Regions from separate parts of the Homo sapiens genome. Here region 1 is linked to region 2. The links are contacts of gene promoters, found by promoter capture Hi-C in human tissues and cell types (Jung and others, 2019). All regions are on one chromosome and are shown on one strand. Each heading gives the region's core, a stretch centred on a gene start or on the middle of the fragment in contact. The rest is flanking DNA. Distances are from core to core; before and after follow the strand shown. Region 1 overlaps DST (dystonin). Region 2 holds the start of KIAA1586.

Region 1 (2,755 bases), core at 88-2,587, 340 kb before region 2:
GCAGTGAGCCGAGATCATGCCACTGCACTCTAGCCTGGGCAACAGAGTGAGATTCTGTCTCAAAAAACAAACAAACAAAACAATAGGTTTCATGCTCCTATGAGAATCTAACGCCATCACTGATCTGACAGGAGGCAGAGCTCAGGTGGTAAGGCTGGCTGGCCCAATGCTCGCCTCCTACTGTGCAGGCCACTTCCTAACAGGCCATGGACCGGACCAGTACCTGTCTGTGGCCTGGGGGTTGGGGACTCTTGTATTAGAGCACTGTAAGAATTCACCCAGTCCCGTTCTAAGGCACAAGCTTGAATTTATAAGGCTAAGGCCTACTTAAAAACAAGGCAGAAAAGCTAAGCTTGTGAATGTCATGTACATTCTAAATCTATGTACTTCTCTGCGTATCTTCAATATAACCAGAAAGCAGCCAAACTCTAAAAGAGCCTGAATGGGAACACTAAAAGATTATATTTATATAAACAATATTATACAGCTCCTGATCCTCAGCCAGCTGCTTTGTCTCTCAAAATAAATGGCTTTATTGTGCAGGTCTGATATCCTCAGTACACAGAAGGACAGTAGAATCCAAGCACATGATTACTTTGGGGACTTCCAGGATTGTAATAGTGCTGAGAATTCTGTGCTCTCTGGTCCACTATGCCTACACCCTACCAGACTTACATTTCACTCTATATTCCACTTCTTGTGTCTTTCTCACTCCAGGACAGTTAAAGATGGGGTATGATTCTGAACACTTATCTCATAGTAAGGCAATTTCACAACTTGACTTGCCAGACTGAACAAAACCCTCTACATAAGGGAAACTTTCCAAAACCAGGTGTCATTTGCTACTATCGTATTTATGTGACAACAAAGGAAAATTAAAACAGACATGTTTAGAGAAGGAAAATAATAATATTAAGCCATGCAAATCTAAACTAGGAAAAGATGGCCGGGTGTGGTGGCTCACGCCTGTAATCCTAGCACTTTGGGAGGCCGAGGTGGGTGGATCATGAGGTCAGGAGTTTAAGACCAACCTGGCTAAGATGGTAAAACCCCATCTCTACTAAAAATACAAAAAGTTAGCTGGGCATGGTGGCAGTGAGCTGTGATCATGCCACTGCACTCCAGCCTGGGCAAAAGAGTGAGACTCCCTCTAAATTAGGAAAAGAGAAAACCTGTGATAAGGGAAAAGACATTTTAGTCCTGCTTCTGCCCTTGGCCTTATGAATTTGTACCAACAGCCTAAACTCTCTAGGCTTCAGGGTTTTTTTTATCTTTAAAATAAAGGTTGGAAAACAGAAAACTCCTAGTTCAACCTAGAGAACAAAAAGTCTGTAATCTTTAAATCAAATTATTATCATTTTAAAAAATCAATGACCTGTCAACTTAGAAAATGTATAAAATAAAAGCTACTCTTAAGACTTATGGCTTAATTTTTTAAGAATTTTAGAAGAAAATGCAGAAATAAACTAATTTAACTTCTATAATGCTTGAAAAAAATCCAAAGACACTGGCTATCCCCAATACTGCCTGCTTTTCCTGTCTCAGCTGACTATTCTGAGGGTCCACAGAAATACTGTATATGGAAAACATCCTACAAAATATAAGATATCATTTTCCGAAAAGCAAATGTCACTAACAATAATAAACAAAAACACACACACCATGAGTTACTACTAGATGCCTAACCTTGTGCTAAGTACTTTATAATACTGAGTCAGTTTCCTCAGCACAAATGAGTGGAATAAAAGAGGATGCTATTAAAAATTAAAAATCAACATTATGGGTAAAGGGTGGTCGGGAATGAACTGAGGGGAAAGAATTGGGGTTCCAATCTGATCGAGCAAGAAATTTAAGGGAAAGAAAAGAAGGGAAAGTAGACAGCTAAGCCTACATAGAAAAGCTTTTATTTTACCCTAGGAGTGAGTCATAGGCATTGGGCCTGGTAACTTTCCTTCACAGATGACTATACTAACCGCCAATATCCCTAACATTCCATTTTCAGTTTTTAATAAAGCATTCCTTTTTCTCTTTTTGGATATGTTCTCCCTATGGGACAAAAAACTGTCTGGATCAATAGTGCTAGAGGAAGTGACGAGCAAAGTAAAAGCACTATGAAATACTCTGGGATTAACTTACATAACTTGAATTACATAACAAGGCTGATACAGCATTTTCTGTATTTCACACAATTCTCGTAGAATTTTGCAGTACTTCAAAAAAATATGTATATAGCATTGCACCTAGAGTTTACCTCTAGGGGGCACTAATCTTTTACTTAAAAGAATATCCCAAGAAAGTAAAATAGACTAGAAAACACTCTATGGGCAACAAAAATTCTAAACAAGATGCTGGCGATGACATGGACAATATTTCAAATTTATTTTGGAGTGAGAACACATTAGCTCATGCCAGGTCTGTATTACCTAAATGGCTTAACTTATCAAAAATACTACACTGAAAATTTCCTTTTGTTAACCTATAACTGTTTGGTTTTATATAGGCTAAATCAAATTCAACTTTGAAGAAAAGAGAATCATTATATAACTGCTTGCTGAATGTTTAAACTTCCTTTTTTAAAAGTCTGACATTATAGTGGTTGATGTTAATCTAGACAAATTTCACAAAAATTTGACTTCCCATTATTTAAACTTATTACTATTGTTTAGCTGCAATTCAATTCAGGTCACAAACTATTTATTGAGCATTCATCCGTCATATGCCAGGGTATCCTTTAAGTTCTATGGGTACAAAGATG
Region 2 (2,765 bases), core at 150-2,649:
GGAATCACATTACATGACTTCAAATTCTACTACAGAGCTATAGTAACCAAAACAGCATGGTACTGGTATAAAAACAGACACACAGACAAATGGAACAGAATACAGTACCCAGAAATAAATCCACACACTTAGGGCATGGCTACACGGAGGAAGGGGTTTCTGAGCACAATACTCTGTGTGTGTTAACTTTGTAGTTTTGAAGTTAACAAGACCCTGGGCTCGCTATGCAGTCCGTATGTGATGTTGAACCCTTTACACACAGCACTAGACGGTTTTGAACCTATCAAAACACTGCTTCACTTAAATTTCACCAACTCCTTAAAATCCTAGTAAGTCTATGTTTTCCTTTGTTCCTATGTTCTCCTTTTCTCCCACTTTGTGGGTTGTCTGTTTACTCTGCTGATTATTTTTTTTGCTGTGCAGAAGCTTTTTAGTTTAATTAAGTTCAGTCTATTTATCTTTGTTTCTGTTGCATTTGCTTTTGGGTTCTTCATCGCGAAGTCTTTGCCTAAGCCAATGTCTAGAAGGTATTTTTCCGGTGTTATCTTGAGCAATTTTTATGACTTCGGGTCTTAGATTTAAGTCTTTGATGCATCTTGAGTTGATTTTTGTATAAGGTGAGAGATGAGGATCCAGTTTAATTCTTCTACATGTGGGTCACCAATTATCCCAGCACCATTTGTTGAAAAGGGTGTCCTTTCCCCACTTTATGTTTTTGTTTGCTTTGCTGAAGATCAGTTGGCTAATCAGATACCTCATAGCTCCTTTGTTGTATAATTTTGTGCATTGTAGATCAGGGTCAAAATGATAAAGGTGATTTTCTGGGACTACAGACTTGTCAATAACAGGTGGTCCTAGGCTGATAGAGGTAAACAAATAAAAGCTTTAAAAGAATATTCTCTGTTAAAATTTGCTTTCATAAATTTCATGTTTAAAATCATTTGTGAATAAATGTTAAAATAAAAAGGTGAGCCACGATTTTGGTAAGGCAATTTCTGAGCAAATCACACACAATTTTTTTTCATTCCCATTGATCTATTACATAGACGAATATTTGGTTGTGAAAAAGTGAGAGAAAGAACTCGGCTATTTTATTATAGTAGAGCAACACCGAAGGGAGACGACTTCGCTGTAGCTCAGAGTCTTTTTCCATTCTTCACCCACGCGCGGGGCAGTCGCGCGGCGCGGTCGCGCGGCGGGTAGGAACTACCATCCCAGCATCCTCTGCGGCGCGGGGAAGGAAGCCCGGGAATGAGAGAAAGAGGCTCCGGGGAGATAGCGGACCAGTGAGGGCTGCCCCTCTTTTGAAGCGGTTTTCGTCTCTTTCCGCCAGTGGCCTCCCAGCTCACGCAGGGGCGGGTCCCGGTAGCGCGAGGCGGTGCAGGGCGGGAAGGGGAGTGGTGGCGGCTGCGGCAGTAGGGACAGCAGGAGCAGTGGTGCTGTCAGCGCGGCCGTCGGAGACATGGGAGACCCGGGGTCGGAAGTGAGTAGTCGAGTGAGGGTCCTGGCGTTCTCAGAGGCGAACCGCGAAGGGTTTGTGTTTTCTGCGGTCTGAGGCCTGGTGCTCCGTCGCAGCCTCGGGGCGATACCTCTTCAGTGTCTTGGGCCGAGCCCAGCTCTGGGGCCTGGTGCGTGTCTGAGCGAGGAACCCGCAGCAACAATGGCCGCCCGGCCCCCCGCACGGGCCCTGGCGTTCGTTGTGGCCGCGGCTGGGCCAGTGGGAGCGACGTTTTAAGGCAGGATTGCCCTTCGGTGTTGAGCTTGCGTTCCTCCTGGAGTAGATAAGGGGAATTGTGAGAGGCTGGTAACTAACGCGTTTTCAGCGTTGGGTCCCTGCAGCTCCGCACACTCTGTGGCAAGAGCCAGAGCTCGAGTTCCGTTCCTAGTCGGGTTTCCGTGAAATTGTGCTCAGTTCGTTTTCCTCAAGAGCTCTCTGTCTTTAATTGTTCCTTTCGGAAACGCTCTCTTCCTACACGAATGTGGCTGAACAGATAAGCATGTTTTGGCTTGTTTTTATAGATAATAGAATCTGTCCCTCCAGCTGGCCCTGAGGCATCTGAGTCAACAACGGATGAAAATGAAGACGACATTCAGTTTGTCAGTGTAAGTAGCAATGATGATTGGGGTTTTCCCAGAGTAAAAGACTATGGTGGGCCATTATGTAATGTTACCTCACCTGGTCATTTAATGTTCATGAGTGTCTAATACATACTAGACACTGGAGCATGGCGCAGGATTGGGAAATTTACCAAAAGAGCTATCTGAGCCACCCCCGTAGCCATCACAAAGAGCACGTCCTAAAGAACGTGCTGTACACTTAATCTCGCCCCCTGCCTTTCATTTAAACTTAAGATAAAAACGCTGGTGTCTAAAACGCTGTTTTGAAATGGAGCAAGAGTAACTTCTAAAGGCGACACGGAGGAAGGAGCTGCTAATGATGAGCAAGGACGTAGAAAACAGGAAGGGTTGTGAGAGCCCAGAATCTTAGCGTTATGGTGCTTCTAACATGAAGGCAAATAGCTTGAAGATTTCTCTAACCTCTGAGATCATCATGTTACGGCATAGTACAGTTGATGCTCATAATGAAGAATCCTACATCACTGGGAACATGCTCTATTTTTCTGAGTTTGTTCCCTTTGAGACAGTAGTTTTCAAGCCTTAGTAAGTATAAACAGGCAGATTCCTGGGCCCCACTGCAGACCTACCGAATCAGAATTTCCAGGCGGGGGCCTAGGAATCTTCATTTTCAGACAAGTGCAGGGACA

What was found. Contacts are between HindIII fragments. The study calls those that stand out against the background at their distance.
Region 1: a fragment that was not itself captured here is called in contact with the fragment with the promoter of KIAA1586 in region 2 in 2 of the 25 tissues and cell types used here (hippocampus and small bowel).

Annotation. Positions count from the first base shown.
Region 1 is chr6:56,706,944-56,709,698 of GRCh38, forward strand. The region is part of intron 5 of DST (dystonin); the gene reads right to left. Among named protein-coding and RNA genes, the nearest start is that of DST-AS1, 140 kb to the right of the region's middle. The HindIII fragment of the contact is 3,563 bases long and covers 1-2,755 here.
Region 2 is chr6:57,045,294-57,048,058 of GRCh38, forward strand. KIAA1586 reads left to right here and starts at 1,400. Exons shown (of 4, transcript NM_020931.4): 1 at 1,400-1,483; 2 at 2,020-2,103. The coding sequence starts at 1,463. RefSeq lists a silencer at 158-452 and enhancers at 1,082-1,171, 1,988-2,765. The HindIII fragment of the contact is 7,542 bases long and covers 655-2,765 here.